Regions from separate parts of the Homo sapiens genome. Here region 2 is linked to region 1. Evidence: promoter capture Hi-C in human tissues and cell types (Jung and others, 2019). All regions are on one chromosome and are shown on one strand. The core of a region is centred on a gene start or on the middle of the fragment in contact, and the rest is flanking DNA. Distances in the headings are between cores, read along the strand shown.

The links. The method cuts DNA at HindIII sites, captures the fragments that hold promoters and counts their contacts. A contact is called where the count stands out against the background at its distance.
Region 2: a contact is called between a fragment that was not itself captured here and the fragment with the promoter of ALDH4A1 in region 1, in 2 of the 25 tissues and cell types used here (adrenal gland and mesendoderm cells).

The regions. Positions count from the first base shown.
Region 1 is chr1:18,900,351-18,904,078 of GRCh38, reverse strand. ALDH4A1 (aldehyde dehydrogenase 4 family member A1) reads left to right here and starts at 1,524. Exons shown (of 15, transcript NM_003748.4): 1 at 1,524-1,617. The coding sequence starts at 1,556. LOC124903866 (a long non-coding RNA gene) reads right to left here and starts at 1,966. Exons shown (of 2, transcript XR_007065519.1): 1 at 1,827-1,966; 2 at 708-1,269. RefSeq lists enhancers at 471-1,288, 1,228-1,457 and a silencer at 1,538-1,757. The HindIII fragment of the contact is 12,356 bases long and covers 594-3,728 here.
Region 2 is chr1:18,588,173-18,591,996 of GRCh38, reverse strand. No RefSeq gene overlaps it. Among named protein-coding and RNA genes, the nearest start is that of PAX7, 41 kb to the left of the region's middle. The HindIII fragment of the contact is 9,422 bases long and covers 1-3,824 here.

The DNA.
Region 1 (3,728 bases), core at 275-2,774:
ACTGAAGGGGAAGAGAGGACATGAGACATCACAGGCTCAGTAACTGGCTTGGCCTGGTTTGGAACTGATGTCCTTTTAACCACAAAGCCCCCATTTTTCCAGGCTCTCCAACGTGCCCACAGGAGGTCACCTTCCCAGGCTCTGGATTTGACAGTAACCAATGTTCTAGTTTTTCTTGTCAATGGGCATGTTCAGGGCAACATTGCCCAAATGTGAACTGAGCCCACCTGTCTAGGGTTTTCTCCAAAGGTGAAGACAAATAGCCGCCACCAATTCCAATTTGCTTTTTGCCATTCCTAATACTTGGCATTTAGGTAATCTCCCTCTCCTACTCTTCATTTAAATGTTTACATTCTCCCAAAGTACCTCAAATGGTGTAATCTGGAGAAAAATAAGTGGCTTAAGATCACGGGGGCTTTGTGAGTTGGGTACTATTACTTCCGTTTTACAGATGAGGAAACTGAGGCCCGGAAAGGATATGTAGTCTGCCTAGTGCCCTGCTTGAGGAACCAAAATCAGCATGGGAACTGACTCCTAAGCAGGTGCGCGGTTCATGCTGCTGGAAGAAATATAAACAAATTAGAACAGAGAGTAAGGAAACGTAACATTACTTTAGGAATAGATTGGGTCCCTGAGACCTCGTCATCAGAGAAGACTTCAGAATCCAAGTTTTAAATAGCATTCTAGTGTTTACCAAGCACACAACATTTTGCAAAGAAAGCTGAAATTTTTACTTGGGGGTAAAAGGCTCAGGAACAACTGGTTTTGCGGCCAAAGGCTTTAAATGAAAAGCTAAGCGTTGGCCAGCTCAGGTTTTATCTTGCATTGATCGTAATCTGCAAGGAAGCTAAGAAGCTGGCCGGCCCCGCGCCTGGAGGGTAGGTGGAGAGCGGCTGGGTCCTGGCCAAGAAGCTGGAAGGCAGGCTCATTCCAGGGGCCGCAGCCCCCGGGAAGAAGCAGGGGGCTGGCCGCGCTGTGGCCCTGCGGGGTCGAGGAGTCTGGTAGCGGACAGGTTTCCAGCCTTGTACAAGCCACCGGCAGCCCGAGAGAAGTCAGTCGGACTCCCATCGAACCCGGGGCGCACGCCAGAGGGCCGGACGCAGCGAGTCCTTCTGCCCCGCTTCAGCACGTGTCCCATTTCGGTTATCTCATTGGCTCTATTCAGCCCCTCTCTGCTCCGCTTTGGAAGGCTGCCGCAGGACCGCCCCGCTGATTGGTTCAGAAGCTTTGGTGTGTCACTCTGACTGGTCGACAGAGTTCACGCCCTCTCTCCCGGGTCATACCATAAAGAGAGGAGGGGAAAACGCATGCATTTCAGGACTTCGCTTTCGGGTTCCCTTGTCCTGTGTTGTGTAATGCCCCCGTTATGGCACTAGAAATATTTTTTATTAGCCGAAGCTAAATATAGTGGGACTTTGGCTGATCCCGAGCTCGGAGGACAGCCGGGGTGATCCGTTTCCCCCCGAGGATCGAGGTGGTGCGCTCTGGACGGGGTTGTGCATTCTCGCCGCGCCCGGGCGGACGATCCAGCGAACAGCCCCGCTTCTAACCCGAGATGCTGCTGCCGGCGCCCGCGCTCCGCCGCGCCCTGCTGTCCCGCCCCTGGACCGGGGCCGGGTGAGTGAGCACGGGGCCCGGGGCGGCCCGAGCGCGCGCCTGGGGCCCGGGAGCCTGAGAGTCACTGGGCGTCCCCCGCGCCGCACTCCCTCCCTGCCGGACCCCCAAGCTGCCTCGGTCAACGCCGGGTTCCTCAGGGGCTCCCCTCCGACCCCCACCCAGGCCTTTCTCCCACTGAGATCCCTTAGCCTCCTCCCTCAGGTAGTCACCTTCCTTTAGCGAGGGGACCCCTCTTCCCGAATCCTGCGACCGAGTAGGGTGCCTCGGTGGCCCTGCCGGTTCCCACGCTCGGAAAGTAGCCTCTGTAGTCACTCACCTCACTCCTAATACTGGATCTTCGCAATTTGCTGGCTTCCCCTGAGGGGCCCTTCTATTTTTAGCACACCACACATCTCACTTCCCCACCCTCGTCTCACGTTCAGTGTCCCCATCCCGCCCCGGATTCCCCGAGTCCTCTCCTTCTACCAGGATTTCTACCTCTCTCTTTTCCGCTCCCCACACACCCCGCCGCCCGTTTTTTTTTTTTTTTTTCAAGTTAAATGTTGGACAGAAAAAAGGATTCCTTTCTTCTTGTAGGTGGAATAATCATATTTATAGAGTGCTTATAATGAACCAAATGCTGGCCGGGCAATTGGCAGGTGTCTTATGAGGATTAAATGAGTTAATACATGGGGAGTGCACTGAACAGTGCCCAGCACAAAGGCAGCGCCCGGTTATTATTATTGCCACGATCATCATCATTATCACCTCTATTTAAACTTCTCACTCCTGTGAGGCAGGTCATTATTCCAAATAATGAAGAAACCCAGGAGCAGTTCAGGGGTGGACCTGCCCTTCAAATCCCGATTTGCAAACCTGACATTGTGGAGCCAGGTGCCTGGACCCTTGCCCACTCAATGACAAATATTCTCAGAGCCCCTCCAGCTCGGAGCTAGGTTTGGAGAGGTAGGTGGGACACAGACCCTGCCCCAGAGGGGTTCCTAGTCTGGTGGGGCTGCCCACCTGTGGATCAGCCCCCCCTCCCATTTGAGGTTTGTTTGCTTGACCCCTGGGGCTGTTAGTGGCAGTGTCTTTCCTGATGAGCTGTGCCCTTTCTGAGTTAATCAGTGGCCCTCTCCCTTCCCCCAAGGGATGGCATGGTGGTGCTCTGAGCACAAGTGAGTTGCAACACTGCTGTGTGTCCTCTGTGGGTGAAGAGGGGATAGGAAAGGGCGCAGGAAGAGGACATGGGACAGAGGGGTTCCTCTTCTAGGCTGAGACTGGGGCCACACTTGCCATACTCCCTGTGTGATCCCGTTTGCAGGCCTTCCCTGCACTCTGAGACTCAGGAAGATGGAGCTTATAGAGTCCTGTGTTTACTGAGTGCCTACTGTGAGCTGGTGCTCTGCCAAACACCCTAGAGATGAGGGGTACCCAGGGAATTTACATGGGGTGGGGCCTTTGAGGAGTTTTCGGCTTAATAGGGGAGAAATGCATAGGAAAACCCTCCAATATCTAGTAGAAAGCAATCCATATTCTAAAAGATAAGCCCATGATAACAATAATGATTATCAAGCAATCAAGCACCATGGGCCTAACACCGAGCCGGTAAGTACTGTCTCATTCCTGTATTATCATGGGAAACGATCTGCCATCAGAGATATATGACTGAAATTACATTTGGTCTAAATCCAGATTTATGCTCTGAATTATGAGGCCTCCTGAATTGAGAGGGGAAAGAGAAAGAGCATTTTGCAGCTGGTTCCCTGGGCTCAAGTTACCCCTTTGATACAGCAGCTGGCCGCATGCCCTAGACAGGATTTCTCAACCTCACCACTATTCGCATTTGGGGCTACATTTTGGTTGCTGTGGAGTCTGTCCTGTGCACTGTAGAATGTTTAGCAGCGTCTCTGGCCTTTACCCGCTGCATGTCAGGGGCACCCCCGGCCCTGACAATTACGAAAAAAACCCTGGCCCTGACAGGAAACACAAGTTCCCAGACATTGTCAGATGTTACCTGGGGGACAAAAGTCACCTCCGGTTGAGAGCCAGTGCTCTAGAGGAACAGCTTTGATGTTTGATCACTTGTTCATTTACTCAGTGAACATTTAGAGCACACCCGTGACATGCCA
Region 2 (3,824 bases), core at 1,187-3,686, 310 kb after region 1:
CTAATTATTAGTAATATTATTAATTCCATAACAGTATTCCTAATAGCCCAAATATCCATCAGCAGTAGAATGCTTGAACACATTGTAATATAGTCAGACAATGAAAAACTCTACAGTGATTAAGATGGACAAAGTACTGCTGTGCATCACAGCAAGGATGGATCTTACACAGTGTTGAGTGAAAGAAGTCAGACACCAAAGAGCACATGTGGGTCCAGTACAGTGGCTCATGCCTGTAATCCCAGCACTTTGGGAGGCTGGGTGAGGCAGGTGGATTGCTTGAGCCCAGAAATTTGAGACCAGCCTGGGCAACATGGTGAAACCTCGTCTCTGCAAAAAATACAAAAATTAGCTGGGTATGGCTGGGCGCGGTGGCTCATGCCTGTAATCCCAGCACTTTGGGAGGCCGAGGTGGGCGGATCACGAGGTCAGGAGATCTAGACCATCCTGGCTAACACGGTGAAATCCCGTCTTTACTAAAAATACAAAAAAATTAGCTGGGCATGCGCCTGTAATCCCAGCTACTCGGGAGGCTGAGACAGGAGAATCACCTGAACCCTGGAGGCAGAGGTTGCGGTGAGCCGAGATCTCACCACTGCACTCCAGCCTGGGCAACAAAGCGAGACTCTGTCTCAAAAAAGAAGAAGAAGGAGAAGGAGAAGGAGAAGGAGAAGGAGAAGAAGAAGAAGAAGAAGAAGAAGAAGAAAAAACGAATTAGCTGGGTGTGGTGGTGCACACCTGTAGCTGCAGCTACTTGGTAGGCTGAGGTGGGAGGATGAGGCAGTCCCAGCTACTTGGTAGGCTGAGCCTGGGAGGTTGAGGCTGCAGTGAGCTGTGATGGTGCTGCTGCCCTCCAGCCTGGGTGACAGAGCAAGACACTGTTTCAAAAAAAAAAATTGTAAAAAAAGAGCACATATTTTTTTAAACTTTTTTTCCCATTTTTTTTCATTATTTGTCTTTACATATGTTTTGATTTACATTACAACGTGAAAAAATGCTCATCATCACTGGCCATCAGAGAAATGCAAATCAAAACCACAATGAGATGCCATCTCACACTAGTTAGAATGGCGATCATTAAAAAGTCAGGAAACAACAGATGCTGGAGAGGATGTGGAGAAATAGGAACACTTTTTCACTGTTGGTGGGACTGTAAACTAGTTCAACCATTGTGGAAGACAGTGTGGAGATTCCTCAAGGATCTAGAACTAGAAATACCATTTGACCCAGCCATCCCATTACTGGGTATATACCCAGAGGATTATAAATCATGCTGCTATAAAGACACATGCACACGTATGTTTATTGCAGCACTATTCACCATAGCAAAGACTTGAAACCAACCCAAATGTCCATCAACGATAGACTGGATTAAGAAAATGTGGGATATATACACCATGGAATACTATGCAGCCATAAGAAAGGATGAGTTCATGTCCTTTGTAGGGACATGGATGAAGCTGGAAACCATCATTCTCAGCAAACTATCGCAAGGACAAAAAACCAAGCACTGCATGTTCTCACTCATAGGTGGGAATTGAACAATGAGAACACTTGGACACAGGAAGGGGAACATCACACACCCGGGCCTGTCGTGGGGTGGGGGGAGGGGGGAGGGGGGAGGGATAGCATTAGGAGATATACCTAATGTAAATGACGAGTTAATGGGTGCAGCACACCAACATGGCACATGTATACATATGTAACAAACCTGCAGGTTGTGCACATGTACCCTAAAACTTAAAGTTATATAAAAACAAACAAATAAATAAAAACAGACAATACAGGATATTAGTTTGATGCAAAAGTAATCGCGGTTTTTGCCATTAAAAGTAATGACATTACTTTTAATGGCAAATTACTTTTAATGGCAAAAACCGCGATTACTTTTGCGCCAACCTAATAGAAATGGGAAAGGTGTTTCCTTTTGGGAGGAGAGGTATGATCACCAGGAGGAGAAGGAGGAGGGCTCTGGGGAGCTGGTCACGTTCCGGTTCTCAATCTGAGTAGCTATTTCACGGGGGTGCTTGCTTTGTGAAAATTCACAGTGCTGTTCCTTTATGATTTGTGACTTTCCTGTATACATGTTCTATTTCAATAAGCATTTTAATTAACAAAATTACTAAAAGGCAGAAGAATGTGAACAAGTGGAAAGATACATCGTATTGTGGCGGAGGGGGGGAGCGGCGGGGCTCAACACCGTGACATTTTAATTCTCTCTCAGCTAATTGATAAATATACTTTGATTCTGATAAAAAATATCCACAGTTTTTGTTGAATGAGGCATGCTTATCCTAAAGTTCGTATGAAAAATTAACCAGTAGGCATAGACAGGAAAATTCTGGAAAAAGAGGGTGCTCGGGGGAAGGACCAACCCATATTATGAAGCCTCAATCATTAAAACAATGTGGTTTTGACCCGTGAATAGTCAAGCAGACAATAAAATAAAAGAAAACTCAGAAATAGGCCTACATTAAATGGACAGTTAGTAAGGTTACCATACCAAACCAGCAAAGAAAAGCTGAATTATTTAATAAACGGTGTTGGACAACTGGAAAGACACCTGGAAAAAAAATCTGGATTTCTACTTTATATTTAAAATAAATGTTGAAGGAATCAAAAATTTAAGTGTGAAAATGAAGCTTAAACATTTTAGAAGGAAACATCAGAGAGTTTCTTTATGACTTTTAAATGAGGGACTTTCTAATTATGACTCAGAAATCTAGAAGCTATTAAAAATGGATAATTTACTTATTTTTTATTTTTCTTTAAAGACACGGCTTCATTATGCTGCCAAGATTGGTCTTGAACTCCTGGCCTCAAGCGATCCTCCCGCCTCAGCCTCCCTTGTAGCTGGGACTACAGGCATGTGCCACCATGCCTGGCTAATTTTTATTTATTCATTTATTCATTTATTGTAGAGATGGGGCAGTCCTAGGTTGCCCAGGCTGGTCTTGAACTCCTGGCCTCAAGCGATCCTCCCACCTCAGCCTTCCAAGTAGCTGGGACTACAGGTACGCACCACCATGGTTGGCTGATCAATTTACTTCTATAAAAATTGGCTGGGCGCAGTGGCTCACACCTGTAATCCCAGCACTTTGGGAGCCTGAGGCAGGCAGATCACCTGAGGTCAGGAGTTCGAGACCAGCCTGGCCAACATGGCGAAACCCTGTCTCTACTAAAAATACAAAAGTGGCTGGGCATGGTGGTGCAGGCCTGTAGTCCCAGCTACTAGGGAGGCTGAAGCAGGAGAATTGCTTGAACCCAGGAAGCGGAGGTTGCAGTGAGCTGAGGCGCGCCACTGCACTCCAGCCTGGGCGACAGAGCTAGACTTCGTCTCAAAAATAAAAAAATAAAAAATAAATAGATAAAAAAATAAAAAAAAATCTGCTTGTTAAAAAAAAAAATCCCATCATGAGCAAAGTCAAAAAAAAAATGACAATCTGGGACAAAATGTTTGTAACTCATATCAGAGGTAAAGGGTTAATCTCCCTCCTGAAGAACCTAGGGAAATTGATGAGAAAGTCAAACGACCCAAAATAAAAATGGGCAAAAGCTGTGAAGAGATAATTTAGAGAAAAGAAAATCCAAAAGTGCTTGAAGATAGGAAAAGAAGTTCAGCTCACCCATAGTAAGATCAATGCCCATTAAAGCTACAGACACATGTCACGTTCCCTGATCAAACTGCCAATCATCCAAATGTAAAATGACGCCTTCTGTTGGTGAGTGTGAGGGAGAAGTAGACATTCTCCTATGTCACCGCGGGGACAATGTCTAAGGGCACCTTGGCACTATCAATCAAAGTTTCAAACGCATGTTGTCTC